Linked DNA regions of Homo sapiens: regions 2, 3, 4 and 5 are each linked to region 1. Evidence: promoter capture Hi-C in 16 types of primary human blood cells and fetal thymus (Javierre and others, 2016). All regions are on one chromosome and are shown on one strand. The core of a region is centred on a gene start or on the middle of the fragment in contact, and the rest is flanking DNA. Distances in the headings are between cores, read along the strand shown. Region 1 holds the start of PROK2 (prokineticin 2). Region 2 overlaps SHQ1 (SHQ1, H/ACA ribonucleoprotein assembly factor). Region 3 holds the start of LOC124909396 (a long non-coding RNA gene). Region 4 overlaps LOC105377161 (a long non-coding RNA gene). Region 5 overlaps LOC105377161 (a long non-coding RNA gene).

The links. Contacts are between HindIII fragments. The CHiCAGO score rates a contact against its expected background, and 5 or more counts as called.
Region 2: a contact is called between a fragment that was not itself captured here and the fragment with the promoter of PROK2 in region 1, in 1 of 17 cell types (total B cells). The highest score is 5.0, in total B cells.
Region 3: a fragment that was not itself captured here is called in contact with the fragment with the promoter of PROK2 in region 1 in 1 of 17 cell types (naive B cells); the score reaches 5.6 in naive B cells.
Region 4: a fragment that was not itself captured here is called in contact with the fragment with the promoter of PROK2 in region 1 in 1 of 17 cell types (naive B cells); the score reaches 6.0 in naive B cells.
Region 5: a fragment that was not itself captured here is called in contact with the fragment with the promoter of PROK2 in region 1 in 1 of 17 cell types (naive B cells); the score reaches 6.0 in naive B cells.

The regions. Positions count from the first base shown.
Region 1 is chr3:71,783,044-71,787,152 of GRCh38, reverse strand. It overlaps PROK2 (prokineticin 2), which reads left to right and starts at 2,005. Exons shown (of 4, transcript NM_001126128.2): 1 at 2,005-2,196. The coding sequence starts at 2,101. LOC105377156 (a long non-coding RNA gene) reads right to left here and starts at 1,763. Exons shown (of 4, transcript NR_199161.1): 1 at 1,630-1,763; 2 at 1,406-1,517; 3 at 1,120-1,216; 4 at 726-936. The HindIII fragment of the contact is 4,477 bases long and covers 1-3,664 here.
Region 2 is chr3:72,752,725-72,756,874 of GRCh38, reverse strand. The region is part of intron 10 of SHQ1 (SHQ1, H/ACA ribonucleoprotein assembly factor); the gene reads left to right. Among named protein-coding and RNA genes, the nearest start is that of SHQ1, 94 kb to the left of the region's middle. The HindIII fragment of the contact is 489 bases long and covers 1,030-1,518 here.
Region 3 is chr3:72,735,301-72,739,388 of GRCh38, reverse strand. It overlaps LOC124909396 (a long non-coding RNA gene), which reads right to left and starts at 483. Exons shown (of 2, transcript XR_007095963.1): 1 at 355-483; 2 at 1-61. It also overlaps a transcript of SHQ1 not described here. RefSeq lists an enhancer at 1-180. The HindIII fragment of the contact is 3,351 bases long and covers 971-4,088 here.
Region 4 is chr3:72,665,608-72,669,534 of GRCh38, reverse strand. All of the region lies in intron 5 of LOC105377161 (a long non-coding RNA gene), which reads left to right. Among named protein-coding and RNA genes, the nearest start is that of SHQ1, 180 kb to the left of the region's middle. The HindIII fragment of the contact is 163 bases long and covers 2,167-2,329 here.
Region 5 is chr3:72,696,486-72,700,384 of GRCh38, reverse strand. All of the region lies in intron 2 of LOC105377161 (a long non-coding RNA gene), which reads left to right. Among named protein-coding and RNA genes, the nearest start is that of SHQ1, 150 kb to the left of the region's middle. The HindIII fragment of the contact is 854 bases long and covers 2,206-3,059 here.

The sequences.
Region 1 (4,109 bases), core at 756-3,255:
ACTTCATTTTTCAAACTTGGCCTCAGATACAAAGATGACATATCAAGAGCCTTCATTTCTCTCCTAAAGCATTAAAGCAATTAAAATTTCCAAAAGAACATGAAACTAAACAACCCTATTTTTAAGTGTTTCCAAACTTATTTCTTTTTTTTAAACTTGTTTCAAAACAGCCTTATGAGGACTGTTTTCCAAACAGCTGTGTAAGAAGCCAGCCACTTTTGAAATCTGATTTTTCCTGTGTAGACATATCATATTTTCTATGCTTGAAGAAGCAGGGAATACCCAAGCTGGCATTCAATAGTAGCGAATATGAAATAGACCATTAAAAGAAAGTCATAGGAATGTTAAAATCCATGTTGACTGGTTTTTACATTTACCCGGCAGCATTCCCGAGCTAGCGTTGGCATGGAGACTGGAAAAGGAAACTTTCCACAAGTCTGTCACTTGCTACTGTTTCTACTTACTCCACTGTGAGTCCAATTTTAACATTTTTTTAAGTTGAAAAAAGGGTTTGACTCCTTTTGTGTTTTCTGTTCAAGGCGTTTTTTAAACATGAGAACACGTGTGAAAAAGGTTTTTAAAAATCAGCCAAAGATTGGGGTTTCCAAATATTCAGCTGTTTAACATTCAGATAATTGCCTGCCTTCCCCCCGCTATCCCCCACATTTCGTCTGAATGCTTTGGCACGGGGGAGCCCCACAGTCTGAAAGTAACTCTGTCCCAACTCTCCTTACTGCATTTATTAAAGAGGCTGAAAGACGCATCTGCTTTTCAATAGTTTGCGGTTCTTAAGAGACCAGGAAAGCCAGAGGTTCTGACTATTCAGGAAGAAAGTTGGGTTTCCCAAAACGGGCAAGCAAGTTCGGTGTGGTCACATCTAGGTATTCTTGACGTCATTTTTGTTGAGGGAAACAGGCTGCAGTTTTTGGAGCCAGGCTAGGATGAGAGATGGAGGGCAAATCTGTCACTTATTCTTTCCTGGTGTGCCTGGAACCCACTAGACACTCAATTCATGTTTACGTGAATGAAGGAATCACAATAACGCCCTATCGCATCTGTAAAACCGAAGGGTGATTTTCCTGGGCTGGAAAGTTTAAGAAAGAAGAGAGAGCTGCGTACCTAGGGCTTAAGGGGCCTCAGGCTGGCACTCGAAACCAGGCGTTCTCATTTCCCTTTGGCATCACCCTGAACGGCTGTGCCTGGAGCTGGCGCGGGGCTGAAGAGGGGAGGAAATACATGTGAGGAAAATCAGAGGAGAGGGTCGGGAACAGATGTGGGCATAAAGGGAAGGCCTCTGACTTGAAATAAACAAATAGGAGTCCCGCAGCTGGAAGGACAAATCCTTTCACGTCGCGGGTGATGTGGGATTGGGGCGATTTTGCTCTCCCTTTGTTCTTTCCCCTGCCTTCCACGTTTCCAGGGTATTTGATTGATGTCTGTCTTCTCTGTTAAGTTATTCCACCGTGAGGAGAGAGCCGGTGGCAGTACCTGGCACGCAGCGGGCGCCCAGTATAGACCTGCTGAACAAACGAATGGATTCAGGGGCTGCTGTGTCCCCCTCACCCACCCCCCGCCCCCTATGTGTCCACAGCGCCCCGCACGTAGTAGGCGACCCCTAAACATCTGTACAGCAAATGATTTGCAAGTTTTCGGCGCTGAGCACGTGGAGCTTTGGAAACCAGGACAGCAAATGAGTGTCTCGGAGACCACAAAAGCGGTTCCGGCGCGTGCGAAAGGCGGTGGCTGGGCGACGGCGGAGGGAACGGCGCAGAGCGGGGCGCCCCGCCGGGAGCGCTGCCTGCGTGGCGCCCGAGGCGGGGGCGCGGGGGGCCGCGCATAGCACGTGCTCGTCTGGGAGCCGGCCGGGCCGAGGCGGGCGCGCGTGTGCGCGTGGGGCGTGGGGTGTGTGCCCGCGCCGTGCCCCCCGCGTGTGCTGCCGGGCGGGCGCCGGCGTGAGTCACGGCGGGGCTAGCCTTTATAACGGCCCGGAGGCTCGCGGGAGCCGCCGCGCCCGTCCGCCCGCCGCTCCGCGCTCCACCCAGCGCACCCGGGCCCCGCGCCCCCAACTGCCTCCGGCGGCCGCCCAGTCCCGAGGGCGCCATGAGGAGCCTGTGCTGCGCCCCACTCCTGCTCCTCTTGCTGCTGCCGCCGCTGCTGCTCACGCCCCGCGCTGGGGACGCCGCCGTGATCACCGGGGTAAGCGGCCCGGGCGCACCTGTCTGCCCCTGATGCGCGCCTGGGATGTGCCCAGGGGGCTTGGGACGGGGACCCTGAAGGGCAGGCTAGAGGCAAAGGGAGGGTCGCCCTGGGCGGGGACACCTGCCCCTGTCGCCCCTTGGTGCACTTGGGAAAATACCCAGATCCAAAAGCAGCAGACGGCTGGGGACACTGGGCGCGTCCTGGAAGAAACAGTGACAAGGATGTCGCCCACCACCTTTATTACCACCTTCTCCCGCTTACTTCTCCCTCATCACCCACGGCCTCACTCCTCGCATTTTTCTTCTGTTAGGCTGAAAGAAGTTTCTCTCTGAGTCTTCTCAAGTACTTTTGGAGGCTCTCCAACCTCGAACCTTAAAATTTGACGGCCCCTTCCTGAAATGCAAAGGACCAAGACGAATTCCCCAAGTGCCCAGAGTCTTAATCCTACAGTCAAAGAGTTTGCTCCCCGATGCGTCCTCCGCAGAAACCCTTTGAAATCGCTTGGTCCAGGGCCATGTGAGCGCTTTGAAAAGCAATTGTGGGAGCTTCCTTCTGGGTTCCGGGGCTTTCCCCCGCGCTCAGGGTCTTGAGGTATCCCCATAAAAGTTTTAAATTTCTAATTCCTGGCAAAGCACCTCCAGTGCTCCAGCATAATGATGGAGTAGGTTGCTGTGTAGATGTTTAAACTTAGAGACGATGTTTTCATCTTTTCTGTAAGTAGGAACTAGTTCAGTTCTCTCCCACTCTCAACAATTTTGTGTGGATCTGAAAAAATTGGGTTTGCAGTACAATACTAAATAGTCTAGTTTACATTAACAAGGCAAAACTGCTATCATTTCCTGGTTGTTCAACTTCTTTACTGTTTTTTAAGTGAGGAATTATTTCACACCTTCATTAAATTACTTCAAATATTTAAGTGCACATAATGGGATTTAAATAAAACGTCTATGTTTGAAATGTTGATACATAGATAATATCATTTGACTTTAAAGGAAGTATCTTTGTCTTGAAAAAATCAAGCTCTATTTTCTCTATATTAGTTATTAGGTTTATAGAATTTTGAAAGTCCTTTTGCTATGACAGCATTTGTATATATCCAACAGATATTTAACTGTAAGCTCTGTGATATTTATTAGAAAAGAGATTTTTTCAAAAAATTACTTGCATAGCTTTGCCAGTCCATGTGGTTGAGAAAAACTTTTTGCAGGTCTTTCTAATACATGAGAATTGAAACATGATTGGATTTTTTTCTCCCTCTTCTCCTGCTGGCTCATTTAAAGTTTCTCCTAATCCTCTGAGCCCAAGATCCCTTTGCAATATAAGTATCTTTTTGTTCCATTCACAGGACAACACTATCTGAATAGATTTGCAATGGGTTAAGGATGAAGGGCATTAGGAAACAGCTGTCTAATTAAAAATATATAAACCTATGCAACTCTTTGTAAATTTTCCAAGAACTGAAGCTTTTGTTACAAAATAAAATTTTATCACATTGGCTGTCTATCTGTTAGAGAGGCTTAGACTGGGCTTATTATATAGTTATGTGTGCTGTTTTTGTTGTTGTTATTTTAACTCAGTGTTACAAAAAGAGAATTTTAAAAATGTCTCTAAAGCAACAGGGCAATAAAATGTAGTTATGTCTCCATGACAGGAACCATCTGGATTCAAATGAAAAACTCAGTAACTTATCAAGATACATTGTGTATAGCATGTTAAACATCCAGGTGATTGAATTTTAAAAGATTTTGGCTGGATTTTTGATTGGTTCATAAAAAAAAGCTCATGGGGCCTCAAAATTCGAGGTATTGAGCATCTGTTGAAATAAAATGCTGGCTAAAACTTTCACCTGACATCCACAGTTTTTTGGGTAGTGTATGTAGGTATTTTGAAATTGATTTATATGCCCACAT
Region 2 (4,150 bases), core at 25-2,524, 970 kb before region 1:
ATTACTCTTTCGTGGTAGTTACATGTAGCATAACTTGTCTGCAGTCTTTAAAGAGAAATTCTCCAAATAGGATATTATTTCACATATGCAGAAAGAATGAAAGGTCTTTTTTAAGTTACATTGTAGGATTACATTTCCAGTAACTTTCTAAGAAAAATCTATTTTGAGTGTGGTTTTATTAAAATATGACAGCAGTGGTATCCAATTGTCTCTTTTAAATGCAGCGTCTCTTCATTCTATAATAAATATATTCTTAACAGGTAGGTGATCCTCACTTAGATATAAAACATGTAACTAGCCAGGCATGGTGGCTTACTCCTGTAATCCCCAGCACTTTGAGAGACCAAGGTGGGTGGATCACTGTGAGGTCAGGAGTTTGAGACCAGCCTGGCCAACATGGCAAAACCCCATCTCTACTAAAAATAACAAAAATTAGCCGGGCGTGGTGGCGCATGCCTGTAATCCCAGCTACTCGGGAGGCTGATGCAGGAGAATCACTTGAACCAGGGAGGTGGAGGTTGCAGTGAGCTGAGATCGCTCCACTGCACTCCACACTCCAGACTGGAAGGCAGAGTGAGAGTCTGTCTCAAGAAAAACCTAACCAGACAAACAAAAAACATATACTATAACTAGTAACTCAGCCTATGTGTTTGTTGAGAGTATCAAAATGTACCATGCCCAGGGCTGCCGCTCATGCCTGTAATCACAGAACTCTGGGAAAGCCAAGGTGGGAGGATCACTTGAGCCCAGGAGTTGGAGACCAGCCTGGGCAACATAGGGAGAACCTGTCTTTACAAAAAATATAAAAATTAGCTGGGTGTGGTGGCATGTGCCTGTAGTCCCAGCTACTCAGGAGGCTGAGGTGGGAGGATCACTTTTGCCCAGGAGGTCAAAGCTACAGGGAGCGCTGATTGCACCACTGCACTCCAGAGCCCAGGCAATAAAGCGAGAACCTGTCTCTAAATAAAGAAATAAATAGTACCTGATGTTTGTAAGAGTGGTTATCTAATAATGCCATTTGACCAAGCTTTTGGACATGAACTAGCCTAGTCAGTTTTGAGTACGACAGAGAAAAACTACTACCTACCTTAAGTGAGCTGCTTTCTGAAAAGGTAAGTCTGTTACAAAAGTAGATTGTGTAATTGACAAGGAGTGGCAGATTAGAACCAACTCTAATTGTACTAGTGGTTGAAAAAAACAAAACAGCTACTCTTTCATGGCTTAATTTTTTTTCCCTACAGGAATAATTTCCCTTTTTGTGAACAGTGATTGCTAGGTTATCTGTGCTAAGTAATTGAATAAAAACAAACCCAACTTTAATTCCTCAGACTACTGGGGCACATTCTACACCAATGCTATTTTGAAATTTTAATCAGTTTTTATCCTAGCATTCTTTAAGAATGGGAGAGAGTTCAGAATGTTTCTTTTATTAAAGTTTCTTTCAGAACTTTAGTATTAATTTAGGAAGCTAGCCAGCTTGAGGTATTAAAGGTGGGATAATAAAATAGAAATGAAGCTTGGCAAAGGATCAAAAATCAATTTATCTGTCTATCTATCTATCATCCATCCATCTATCCATCCATCCATCCATCCATCCATCTATCCATCTATCCATCCATCCATCCATCCATCAACTTATTGTATAACCTGGTAATTTTAAACATAATATAATGCCGAAAGTGAAAAACTTTTTCCTGAAGGATAAAAGTTCGCATCAGCTGGTTACAGGCAGGAGTTCCTGTTTGGGCCCCTGGACTCAGCTTCACCACTTTTCTGCCTGTTACACTTGTTACTTTCAGTCCCCCTGTGTGTGGGGTATGCTTTCTGAGAAGAGCCAGGATTCTAGGGGAGGAGCTTTGGAATTCCACATTTCTACTGTTATAAAAGACAGGACACAATATCTGTATAGTAGACAATAACAAAGATCCAAATAATATCAACTTGAGAATTGGCATGTTTAATATATTCAGCAATATTCACAAAAATGATTCAAATTTTACCCTTGTTTTCTAAACCTCCATAGATGATGCTTATATGTATACTTCATTTAACATTGTTAAGCTAAATATATTAGTCACAGTTCCTTTGGAGGATTCTGGGCTTTGTGCAAGTCAGAACTTGCTCAGTTGGAAGATGCTGAGTGGAGCTCAAGTTAGGAAGAAGTAAAGAATGTGGCCTTAAGAAAGGACACTTTGGCCAGGTGCAGTGGCTCATGCCTGTAATCCCAGCACTTTGGAAGGCCTAGGCGGGCAGATCACCTGAGGTCGGGAGTTCAAGACCAGCCTGACCAACATGGAAAAACCCTGTCTCTACTAAAAATATAAAATTAGTCGGGCATGGTGGCTCATGTCTGTAATTCCAGCTACTCGGGAGGCGGAGGCAGGAGAATCTCTTGAACCCAGGAAGTGAAGGTTGTGGTGAGCCGAGATCGTGCTGTTGCACTCCAGCCTGGGCAACGAGAGTGAAAATCCATCTCAAAAAAAAAAAAAAGAAGAAGAAAAAGAAGAGAAGAACACTTTGCAGAGCCTGTATATTCATGGGAGGCCCTTTGGTGGAACGGGAAGAGGGCTGGAGTTTTGAGGCTTGGGTTTCCAGTCGTGACCGCCCCTTGTTGGCTGAGTGAACCTCAGCGGCTCTCCTACCCCTGCAAGCTCTAGTTCCCTCATCTGTAATGTAGGGATAACAATGGCACTGATTCACAAGGTGGTTAATGGAGCAAGTGCAGTGATGTTAGTGGAGCATCATCCTTTGTATATTGTTGAGAAGTATTTGTCATGACAATTAAAATGAGATATATAGTCAGTAAAGTAAAAGCTTTTATTTTATATTTTTTATTTCTAGTATTAGAGTTAGAGGCAGTATCCACTTTCCCAAATTTATTACTCTTTATTTCTTAAGTTGTGTGTCACTACCCAGAGAGAACTCCCCTTCATGGAGAAACAGAGTGGTGTACTAGTTCTTTGACTGAACTTTGCAGCAGCTCAGACTGAATCCTTTACCACTGGTAGTCAAGGTTTCAAAATATATGGTGGACATTATCTACAACTGTCTTGGGTATAAATGCAAATTATGTTGCAGCCGTCATATTCCATAGCTATGCTTTTAAAAATGCCTCAGACTGATAAAAGATTAGCCAGGGGTTATAATGCTTTGGTGAATCATTAACTGACTCTAGTGGATCTCACCTTGGTTTTCCTCTTTACCCTAAACCCCTCCCTTTCTCTAAGCGCTCTGGAAGTTCTGGCACTGAAACCCAGGGCTAAGAGAAAGCTACCCATCAACGATGGTGACTGCCCTTGTCCCACTCACCGCACTGTGCCTCCCGCTCACCCTTGGACACTGCAGTGGTGCTTCTGTGGCCTGATTACACATGTGAAGAGGCAGCAGGGGTTGTGGGGGGTGGGGGGCAATCCCTGCACAATCTCATTATTGTGCTGAGTACTTTGAGAAATAGCATTTCAGGTACATGCAGGCACCCAGATTAAAATACCATCTTTGTTCGGTATTTCCCATTGTACCATCAGCTCCACTGAAATGAAGCCTCATTTTCCTGATATTATGGGATGGACTATACTTTTACAAATGAATTTATCTTGTAAACTCACCGTCATCCAGTTTGTCTCAAAGCCACTCAATGTTTTGTATGTTCATTTAATCTTTGGAGTCAGGGAAACATAGAAACCATGTCAGCATGTTTACCACTTTCACTCACTGTCACCTTTCTTCAGTTGTCACATCAGATTTCCCCTTAAGAATAGTAGTCATCTTTGGAGAATGCCAGTTTGTGTCATGTTGGTTCTTTTAGAAACAAAAAACAACTAAATGCATCCAAGTTAATAATGGAAAAGTTTATTTACTCGATACAATGTAATATTATAAATCTAGCAGGTAATTTAGAGGAAAAGCGTCTTCGGCTGGTCATGGTGGCTCACGCCTGTAATCCCAGCACTTTGGGAGGCCGAGGTAGGTGGATCACGAGGTCAGGAGATCAAGACCATCTCGGCCAACATGGTGAAACCTCATCTCTACTAAAAATACAAAAAAAATTAGCTGGGCCTGGTGACTCATGCCTGTAATCCCAGCACTTTGGGAGGCCGAGGCTGGCAGATCACGAGGTCAGGAGATGAAGACCATCCTGGCCAACATGGTG
Region 3 (4,088 bases), core at 1,397-3,896, 950 kb before region 1:
GAGGAGAGGGTGCATCGCAGCGTGTGTTCCCTCCAGTCGGATTTCCTTGAATCACTCGCACCTGGGGGAAGGAAGATGAGGAGGGGGATTGTCGGTGGATGGGCAGGATCTCTGTACTGGGGGCGGGAGGGGCGTTGCCACGTTGAGCACCGACACTTGAGAAGTGACACGGCTTCGTTTGTACACAAACCATCCTGCATGGTGTTTAAAAACAAAGGGCAAAGTCAGACGTTGCTCGAGGGCCCGGAAAGCCAACTGCGAAGCAGGCGGGCAGCTCCCGGATGGCCCCGCGTTGCCCCTGCTCCCACGCTCCCGGATCAGTGAGAAAGCCTGCGCCCCGCCCTGAGAGCCAACCCGCTAATCCGCGGCATCGTCCACCAATGTGTCTAATGAGGTGGCATAACCACCCAGCTCTCCCCGGAGCCGCGCAGGGCCTCCTGGCTGAACTAGCGGGTGTAGCTCCGTCGGGTCCTCGGGCGTCGCGGGGCGGGGCGGGGTGGGGCCACTGCGCGTGCGCGCGGACCGGGCGGGGCGGGGCCCAGGGCAGGTGCCTGGAGGAGGGTCTCCCAGCGGCAGGGGCAGACGCCAAGCTTGCTGAGGCTGGAGTGTATGCTTAATCACAGTCGACTGAGGGGCTGTTTAAGAATTGTAAGAAGCTGTTCCAGGTGAAGTTCTGAGCAGAGCTACAGAAGGTCGCGGTCTGGAAGCTGCTGGGAGGAGAGGGGCGACATCAGTGGCTTTCGTTGGGGGAAGGCACCCGCAGGATTTCCTGGGATGGGGAAACAATAACCTGGAATACGAGGAGGCTGTCCTAGAAGAGTCAGATTGCCCACTCCCATCCCACCCCCATCCCCAAGCTGATGAAATTGGCGCGAAGCAGATCCCTAAATTCACAAGCTTATCTAATTCCTGCCAATAACACAGTATTTCTGTTTCTGCGGATACCTGGCTCTCGGGGCACATTGAAGCTTCACCTGGAGAGGATGGAACAGAGAAGACGATCAAAAACAGGGCCTTCCTGGAACCAAATGCCAATAACAGCCCTCAGGTGCCTAGCTAGCCCTTTACAGATTGCAAAGGGCTTTCTTCTACCTTGCCTCGTTTTCAGCAGGGGCAGGCAAGTGATCCCATTTTAAAGCGAGGAACCCGAGAGAGCTCAGGCTTTTCCCAGGTTGGGCACAGGGTGCAGTGGGAACTAAGGACTCAGTGAGTAGGGGTCACCCAGGGAGCCATGGAAGATCTCCCAAAGAAAGGATGAACAGGAGTTGGATGAGCAGAGGGACGTTAGGGTGGGGTGTTCATGTCTCAGGTGGAGAGATGTGGTGGGTGAGGGAACAAGATTGCTCAGGGTGGCTGAACACGGGAGGGTTAGCAGAGCTGGGGAATTGGGGGGCAACCCACGGAAAGACACATCCACTTGTGGGCCCAGATCAGCATTGTGTCACATTAAGAAAAAGGGAGAACTCAATTCACTATCCATAGTAATTGAAAAGCAATTGAATATTTATTGTAGCCTCTGGTGCACTTCATTTGTAAGGCACAGCCAATACAGCTGGCCCTCCATATCCATGGGTTCCACGTTCCTGGATTCAGCCAGCTGTGGGTGGAAAACCACTCAGAAAAAATAAAAAGGATAATTCCATACTGAACATTCACAGACTTTTTTTCGTGTCATTATTCCCTAAACAGTACCGTGTAACAACTATTTCCATAGCACTTACATTGTATTAGGTATTATAAGTAATCTAGCGATGACTGGAAGTATATAGGAGGATGCACATAGGTTATATGCAACTTCTATGCCAATTTTTATCAGGGACTTGAGCATTGGCAAATTTTGGTATCCTGGGGGTCCTGGAACCAATCGCTTGCAGATATTGAGGGACAGCTGCATTGTAAAAATCTTCTTTTTCTTTCTTTCATTCTCTTACTCTCTTATCCTAGCCACTGCCCCCAAAGATGCATCTTTCCCCTTCCAAATTTCCCCAGTTCTCCTTCAGACTCTGCCTTCAGAGGGTTCCTGCCTCTCCTCTCCTTCTCCCCTTCCGTGGCTGTGGTTTTAACCCTACAGTACCTTTTTAATTAATTAATTATTATTTTTTCTTTTTTGGGAGACAGAATCTTGCTTTGTCGCCCAGGCTGGAGTACAGTGGCACGATCTCAGCTCACTGCAACCTCTACCTCCTGGGTTCAAGCAATTCTCATGCCTCAGTCTCCTGAGTAGCTAGGACTACAGATGCACCCCAGCACACCCGGCTAATATTTTTATTTTTTTATTTTTAGTAGAGATGGGGTTTCATTATGTTAGGCCAGCTGGTCTCGAACTCCTGAGCTTAGGCAATCCACCCACCTCAGCCTCCCAAAGTGCTAGGATTACAGGCATGAGCCACCACCCCCGGCCTAACCCTACAGTACCCTTAGATTTCCTTCCCAGTATAAACTCTGCTTTCCCTGTGGCTTTTTGCACTTCGGAAAGTGGAAAGAGATTAGTGCAGGAGTCAGCAAACCAGGGCACTGAGGCCATATCCATCCCACTGCCTGTTTTTGTATAGCCTGCAAACTGAGGATCTTTTAATTTCTTTTTTTTTTTTTTTTTGAAACGGAGTCTCACTCTGTCACCCAGGCTGGAGTGCAGTGGCACAATCTCGGCTCACTACAACTTCTGCCTCCTGGGTTCAAGCAATTCTCTTGCCTCAGCCTCCCAAGTAGCTGGGATTACAGGTGCCTGCCACCATTCCTGCCTAGTTTTCTTGTAATTTTAGTATAGATGGGGTTTCACCATGTTGGCCAGGCTGGTTTCAAACTCCTGACCTCAAGTGATCCATCTGTCTCGGCCTCCCAAAGTGCTAGGATTACAGGCATGTGCCACCGTGCCCAGCCCAAACTGAGGATTTTTTTAAAAAAATTTTTAATGATTGAAAAGAATTTATGGAGATGTCTTTTCTCTTTTGTTATGTAGGTACTTACCTAATAGCCTTGATTCTGCCCCTTGGTCCATAAAACTTAGAATATTGTACCATCTGGACCTTTACAGAAAAAGGTTGCCAATCCCTGGTTTAAGAGAAGGGGTTTGTGAATACCTATCCAGTAGCATTTTGGATGCCTGGCCCATGGCTTCTGGGGTTTCCATGCCCTCCTGGGGGAGGCTGTGCAGAAAGCTGGGACAAGAGGAATGAGGCTGATACTACCCCGAATCCCACCACAGGGGTGGTCCCATGGCTCAGGTCTGGCCAATCAGAGTACCCTGTTCTTCTGGCCACAGTGATTGGTTCAGCAATAAGCAGGTGTCTCAAGCCTAGTCAATCAAAGTCCTCTTGGGGCTTTGGCCAGAGCTACTAGAAATGATACTTTTTCTGAGTTGGTAAGCTGGAAGGAAGCCATTATTCAGAGGATGATTATCTTTGTATCTATGTGAGGAAAACCTTTCTGGAAAAGAAATTGCATATACCAGAAAGCAGACATGGAAGGAAGAAGGGAGGAAGAGAGAGAGAGAGAGAGATTGACACATTTGACATTGTTTGAGACTCAGCACCCAGCCACCCCTAAAGCTCCTTCCACCCTGGACCTTCAGTCATGCAAGCCAGTAAAATGCCTGCCTGCCTGCCTGCCTGCCTGCCTGCCTGCCTGCCTGCCTGCCTTCCTTCCTTCCTTCCTTCCTTCCTTCCTTCCTTCCTTCCTCTCTCTCTCTCTTTAGCTGAATTGGGCAGAGTTCAGTTACTTGTATCCAAACACATTCTGAGCAATATATGGGCTTTACCAGGTACTTTGGAACCTTGGATTTCTCCCCTTGGTACCCACAACCCCTGCCATGTAACTTTCAGTGCCCTCTCACTCTGACTCTGGACTCCAAGTGACTTGCTTTGGCCAATAGCATGTTTGCAAACATTATGTAGACACAGTGGGACTTGTATTGTCTTTAGTAGCCCTTGGAGCTCCTCCAAGCCCATATAACAGTCCCAGTCTGGGCCACTACATGATGATAGACATATAGAGCCAAGATGAGCCTTCCCATCCTCTTGACCAACAAGCCTCGAGCTAGGATGGCTGGAAGCCAACTGTAGGCACATGAATGATCACAGCAGAGGCCA
Region 4 (3,927 bases), core at 999-3,498, 880 kb before region 1:
AATGTCTAGCTTGGGGCTTAGGCCACAATGCTAGGACTAAAGGAAAAGTCATCTTCAACTTCCTGTCACCCATAGGCAGAGGGACTCCATGTCATGGTTTGCCTGGGACAGTCCCTTTTACTCCAGCTGTCTGGACTTCATTATTCACATTGCTCCCTTTCATTCTTAAAGTCACCATGGTTTGGAGTAGGTGGAGTGGTCATTCACACGTTTGTGGTAAGATTGGAAGAATCTCTTGCTTACCTAGTGCCTGAAATCCCACTATTGTTTTGGGTTAAGCATTGCAATAGGATCTTGCTTAAAATGCAGAGTCGTGTGATTGATTGTGTGTATGTGCACTCACTTGTGTGGGTGTGGGGGGAATGGGTGAATACCATGAGTCCTAGTTTGAATTGGTTTTTCAGATTGCATTCCTGAATAGTGGGGAGGACCTGGACAAAGTTAAACCCACGAAGTGGGGAGGGGGATCCATGGGAGGAAGACGTTTGGCCTCTCTCAGCCCCACGAGGTCCCCGAGGGAGAGTTCCCAGACTAGGCTGGCCTCGGACCCAAAGCAGACAGATGAACCTTGTGACTTTTGGCCCTGGGCAGGCGCCTAAGCTTGGCTGTGAACTTGGTTTTACTCTGATGGTGAGAAAAGCCCAGGTAATATGTGAGCCCCTCATAAGAGCCAGTATTGCTCCCTGATACTCTCCTGGCAAACCCTCATCCTTCCCACAGTCCCTTCCAAGCAAGAGGAGGAGCACCAAGACAGGAAAGGCACCTGAGGAGGGATCAAGTCCCAGATCCCAAAGGGACCCCTCCAGGCCTTGAACAATTTGCTCATCACACTGATCGAGCCCTCCTGGGTTCCAGTGCTGCCTCCTCTCCTCCCGAGTGTCCTTGGGTGAGGTACCTTTTTGAGCCTCAGTTTCCTCATCTGTAGAATGGGGGTAAATAGTAACCATTGGGGAGTGTCCCAACTGAGACCAATGCCCCCTCATATAAGGATACTTCCAGGAGGGCTGATTTACAAAGGAGCCTGGTGTGGGGGAAGAGTAGGGAAGGTGCAGTCTCCCACAGTAGCCATGTTTCTAGGCCAGGAGGGGACAGCAGGAGGGAGCAGATACTAGAAATGGGAGGATGGGTCCCATACGGAAGGCTGCTGTGAGACGATCAGTGACTTCTGGTGGAGGGACAGGTCCAGCAGAAGTCAGGGAAGGTACCAGGGGGATAAGTACCCCAGCCTCAACCTTCTCCCTCCCTCCACTTTCCTGCCAGGGCTGTTCAACTGGTCCAACCAACAGGATGCCAGAGGCAAGAAGGCACGTTAACATAGCGCTCGCCAGTCAGACTTCTGGGCACAAAGCAGGGTGGAGAAGGGCAGAGCATGGACCTGAAGGGCAGCAGAAGCCCACCCACATGTGATCCTGTAGCTGATGGCTGAGCATTAGCCCACTAGAGCCTCGCAATAGCCCCATTCCTCATTCAGGGGCTGGCACATAAAAGTCTCATTAAATAGTCACCAAATGAATGAATGAATGCATACCTCCTACCTGCTAACAGAAGTGCCTGTGCCAGCTCCTTACTATACTGTGAACCCCAAGAGAGAGGTGTTGGGGCCAAGAGCAGCCTGAATCTACCCTGTGGCTGGCCATGAGGAAGGTATTGGACGGAACTGATGAACTTGCTTTGTGTGGAGTGTGGATGCCAAATGGCCTTGCAATGTGAATCCTTGGGACCCCACAGGCCACCAAGAACACAGAAAACTTATGTTCAAGTTCCCTTTCTCTGTTGATGTGAAGGCTATATTAGTCCATTTTCATGCTGCAATGAAGAAATACCCGAGACTGGGTAATTTATAAAGAAAAAGAGGTTTAATGGACTCACAGTTCCACATGGCTGGGGGGTCCTCACAATCATGGTGGAAAGTGAAGGAAGAGCAAAGGCACATCTTACATGGCGACAGGCAAGAGAGCGTGTGCAGGGGAACTGCCCTTTATAAAACCATCACATCTCATGAGACTTATTCACTATCTTGAGAACAGCAGAGGAAAAAGCCACCCCCATGATTCAGTTACCTCCCACCATGTCCCTCCCATGACATGTGGAGATTATGGGAGCTAAGATTCAAGACGAATTTGGGTGGGGACACAGCTAAACCATATCAGAGACAGAATGGAAGCTTCTTGGTGTGGGAATTCCAGAAGGCACAGGCAAAGCTGGTTTGTGTGGCGTTTTCAGGGGAGCCTAGATTCTACAATTTCCTTGCAGTGCTAGTGGGGAATGGCACAGAAAACCCACTGCAGTCCAGCTTTCCTTCTCTTCTTTATTACTCTTAGAGTAAGCTTATAGAGGTCATATAACTTTATTGTAAAGAAAACCAAATCAGCAATCACAAATAAGCAGAAAAGAAACAATAAAAAATGATCACTGTCATATAATTGATTAATATTTTGGTGCATATCTTTCTAGATTCTTTTCTACTCTGGCTTTCTTTTTATCAGGATCCTGTTGTTTCCAACCAAAGCCAAAATAGCTAACATGCTGGCTGAGCACGGTGGCTCACATCTGTAATCCCAGCACTTTGGGAGGCCTAGGAGGCGGGTGGATCATTTGAGATTAGGGGTTCAAGACCAGCCTGGCCAACATGGTGAAACCCTGTCTCTACTAAAGATACAAAAATTAGCCAGGTGGTAGTGGCATGTGCCTGTAATCCCAGCTACTCGGGAGGCTGAGGCAGGAGAATAGCTTGATTGGAGGTGGAGGTTGCAGTGAGCCGAGATTGCACCACTGCACTCCAGTCTGGGCGACAGAGTGAGACCCTGTCTCAGGAAAAAAAAAAAAAAAAAGCTAACATGCTTTAAGCACTTTTTCTGTGCAGGTATGGTGCAAAATACTTTACATGCACTAGCTCATTAGATTCTCATTTTTTTAATGGCGGCACAGAGAGGTTAAATGACTTGTCCAAGGGCACACAGCTAGTAAGTAAGGAAATTGGGATTTGAACCTAGGCAGGCTGATTCCAGAGCCCCCATTCTTATATGGGCTGATTGCAAACCAGGTAAGAGATAGCTAGTTTTTCGAAGATCCCATGCCACTGTCTCCTAAGTGACATGGTGCCAGCTAGTGCAATATTAATCACTGCAGCATACAGCCAAAAAAAACTTTTCAGCGCCCCAGTTGAGAAATGAACACTGAACCACAGCGCCCCCTGGCTTACATAGTAATTCTGATTGGCTCACTCTAGGGTCACACTGGCCAGCAAAAATTCAAGACAAACCTTTATTGGGCATCTACTATGTGGCGAGCTCTCTGCCAGCCATTGGGTGTAAAAAGTAGAATAAGGTATAGCTTCTGCCCTCCAGGTATTCTTGCATAGCCAGGAGAGACGCACCTAGAAGACGCACAATAGACGCACCTTCTATTGTGTCAATAGAAGGAGAGCTATGCTCTAATGGAGGGTGTGTACCCGCCAAAGCCCTGCAGACACTATGGGGGAAGGGACTTTCACAAGATCACAGAAAGATCAGGTTTCTGCTCTCACCTCCCTTGAGGCCCCCTCCTCTGATGCCACCTTGAGCTCCCTGGCCTGGCCCCAGTGATAAGATTTCCTTTGGTCCTTCCTCCCTCCAACTGAAACGTATGTGTCTTCCCACTTTTTCTCTCAGCGTGCTGCCAGATGGCCATCTCGCTAATCTCAGAACCTCATTCAAAATCAGGGGGTAATGACTTCTGAGTTTTAACAAGAGCTTTCAGAGCTGAACACCAGGAATCACAAACACAGATGCCCACGGGTTAGGCCGATAACATCAGCGCACTCAGCAGACCAGTATTTGGATGTTAAATATGCAGGAATATTCTTTACTTGCACAAAGAGATATACTCTCACCTATTTTTTTTTTCCTGAAGCACATTGTCCTTTGAGTCTATCTTTTCGTTTTCTAT
Region 5 (3,899 bases), core at 1,383-3,882, 910 kb before region 1:
AGAGAGGGTAAGCAACTCAACCCAACCAGCCCGTCCAGAGCCCATACTCCCAACCACCTTTACTGAGCTCTGCCCAGCCACTATCTACCTGGCCCAATCAATCTCCCTGGGGCCAGGGACCAGACAACTAGGGACAGCCCCTATACCCCAGAGCCTGCTGAATTATTCAAACTAGCCAACCCTGCCTTGGCCGATCATTCTCATGGAGACCCAATAAAGGCTATGGCTCATGCTTTCCTCCTGCTCTTTCTGCCTCCTGACCCACCCCAGTGCTTCCCTATGGGGCCCCTTGTGGCATGGCGGGTCCCCTCCCGTTGGGAGGTATAACAAGATAACTTTCAATGACAGTGATCCCCTGAGCTGTTGGCTTTGCCATAGCTAAATAATAATAAAACCTACATTTTAAAACACGCCGTCTCCCAAAGGCCCTCATGGGATAAGCTCCCGTTGCCCACAGTGGGAGCTGCCTGGATAACGCAGCCTTTGTTGGCCGTCTGCCCTTCCTGTTCTCATTTCCCCACTTCCCTGCCAGTGTTTCCTGTGCCTCCCAAATAAGCCAACCATATTCCTATCCTTGCCCCAGGGGCTGCTTCCAGAGGAACAAAATTAAGTCAGCACAAAAGTGAATATTTATTTTAAATACAGAGAGGAAATGAAAATGGAGACAGTGGACTTAATGGATGGCCATTGAGGTATCTTATATGGGCAAATTCTACAAAACCATGTGACCACACATGCACATACTGTGAGGGCTTTTGGAAGGGGTCCAGGTCTTGATGCAGGATAAATCTGCCTCTACCTCCCTGCCTAGGGTGCAGGCTCCGTGGGTACCAGGACAGTGCCCAGTGCAGGGGCTAACACATAGTAGTTGCTCCATAAATAATAGTTTAATAGGATAGGTGCAGTGGCTCATGCCTGTAATCCCTGGACTTTGGGAGGCCGAGGTGGAAGGGTCACTCAAGTCCAGGAGTTTGAGACCAGCCTAGGCAACATAGCAAGGTGCTGTCTCTACAAAAAGTTCTTAAAAAATTAGCCAGATGTGGTAACATGTGCCTGTAGTCCCATCTACTTGGGAGGCTGAGGTAGGAGGATTGTGTGTGTCCAGGAGTTCAAGCTGTAGTGAGCTATGATTGCACCACTGTGCTGGCCAACAGAGTAAGACTCTGTCTCTAAAACAATAATAATAATAGCTTAATAAATGAACAGTGTAACAAGGATATGCCAATTAGGCAGAGAAGACTCTGATGTACTCTCCTCTCTCCTGGGTGGTGCTTGGGTAGACATCCTTTGAATTCCCTTTTTGATGATCAAGTCTCCATTAGATGGACACAATTTTTTTCTGTAAATGCACTAATATCTTTATTCTCACAGACCTGGGAGCCAGGATATGTCTTTAGAACCACTTTGCAATTTGCTGATCTGATCCATTGTGTACTGACTGTGGTTTATCTCCCAGATGGCAACTCTATCTCCATTATTTCTAAGTTCCTTGTTGGGTAGGTGGGACATCATGACCCCTACACAAGGAGCCAGGCATGGTATTGACTAACATATGATGTGTAACTGCGCAGCCTGCATGGTTGGAAGCTTCTCCACTCCCTAGCAGAATCTGATTTTGGGCAAGTTACTTAGACTCCCTGCCCCTCAGTTTTCTCAGCTATAAAATGGGGATAATGACAGTACCACCTTTCAGATTAGTGGGAAAATTCAATGAGATAAGGCATTCAAGCCCTTAGCACAATGTCTGATGATAGCTAGTGCTTAGTACATGAAGACTGTTTATGGGAAATGTAATGCTATGCCCAAAGACTGTTAATTCTATAAGGCTAAGTTTTTCTGTTGCAATCCACAGGCCTAGGGCAGCATGGAGTTAATTCTAAAACAGACTTTTTATTAGTCTCTGGGAGCTTGTGAAGTACAGATAGGGAATGCTCTAACGTGAACAAGGCACCATAAATGATGTGCTTTGTTTCCTGTAGGGGTGGTTTCCTAGTGACTCTCAGGGAGCCAGGTCCCTCTTGCCTAAACAGTGGGGCTTCCTGAGGGAAACAGCCCTCCTGTGGTGGGTCAGTCAAGAAGGAATTGCTGGCCCATGGAATGTTGTTTACCACCAACGGCTTTTGGCAACACAGAGGGGGATAAACTTAATGGATGAACTGCAGAAGCAGAGAGGCAGAGAGCATGAGTGAGCACTCCTGGCAAGCTTCATACAAGGAGGGTGCAATCTATAGAAAACAAGATTTACTGAGATGACAAACGTGTGTGAGGTAAAGAAACAAAAAGAGAAAGTGCGTGGAGTGAATATGAAGAAGGAAGGAGCAAAAGAAAGAAGTACAGGAGAAAGGCACATGAATCTAGGAGGGTCTGTCCTAAGGACAGCAGAAGCTGGAAGCGGAGTAAATAACAGAATTGACAGGCATACTTATCATTAGTCTCCATGCCTATGTCTGTGGCAGGCATCACCAGTCAATCACAGCAATCCTCCAGCTGGCCTCAGAAATAGCCTCAGAATCCTCCTCAATCCAGTGATCCAGGTTATCACTACTAAACCACCATGTTGGTGTTTGAGTTGAAACCTTCCTCTTGTTTGGGTTATAAGCTCTTGCCAAACATTTAGGAAGAAAACTTGGACCAGAAAAGCAGATCAAGGCAATGAGGACACAAGAGCAGTAAGGAAGGGGGCGTTCGGACTGCCACATTCCTGGCTGAAGGGCAGAAGGAGTGGGCCCTTTGCAGTCTCAGAGACTGGAGCTCTGTCTCCAACCCTGTTCCACTTATCAGACAGTCCCATTTCCCTGACAGTAAAATAGGGAGATGAAGGGGCTGGATTGAAGCCATAGCCTCAGAGTTGAGTATAGGAGATCCTTGGAGATGGAACATAGAGAGAAAAAAGGCTTATTCTAGTCATCTCTAGCAGTGGCTTGAAATAGTAGGTGCTCAATAAAAAATCATCGAAAGAATTGAGCAAGGAATGTGCAGGGCTGGAAAAGAATATTGATTCACCACTGGTGGGAGCGATGTACCCTTTTGGAAGGATGCCGTGGACCTATATATAAGCTTAAAAATGTGGAGAACTTTTGACCTTTATTTCTAGGAATTTATCCTAGGGAGAATTGCTTGACCCTGATAGGTGGAGGTTGCAGTGAGCCGAGATTGCCCCACTGCACTCCAGCCTGGGCAAAAGAGCGACACTCCATCTCAAAAAAAAAAAAAAAAAAAAAAATTCTCCGCCTGAAGTGTGTTTTTTATGCTTATAACAAGCAAAGGGTCAGACTTTTGCTGAGGACAGGTAAAATCAAAATGCGCATGCTCCCTACAGGGGAGATTCCCAACTGGAGGGAGCTTTGCTTGAATGAGCTTGACTACAGTGAGGATGCTGGGGCTTATTGTGTTGACCGTAGGTCCCCACTGTTGCTGTGTCCTGAGGACATGGTTACTTCCTTGACTACCTAACCTGCTTCAGGTGAAGACCACACAGCCGTTAAAAATGATGCTGCCTAGAAATGTTTAATGACAGGGGACTACATTTATGTCATTAGTGAATAGAAAAAAGTTATTAAAAAAGCAAGTACTTACTGAAAAAAATTAAATATATTTATGCACAGTAAAAACAATTGGAAGTATATGGGCCAAAATGTTAAAAAATATTTATCTGAAGGTAGTTGTATGATAGGTGGTGTTTAGTTTTTCCTCCTACTTTTCTATGTTTAAAACATTTTTTCACAATAAGCAAATTAGTTTTGTAATAATTAGAAGGTTTAAGAATAATTGACAAGCTGGGCATCGTGGTGTGCACCTGTAGTCCCAGCTGCTCCGAAGGCTGAAGTGGAAAGATCATTTCAGCCCAGGAGTTCGAGGCTGCAGTAAGCTGTGATTGCACCACTGCACTCCAGCCTGGG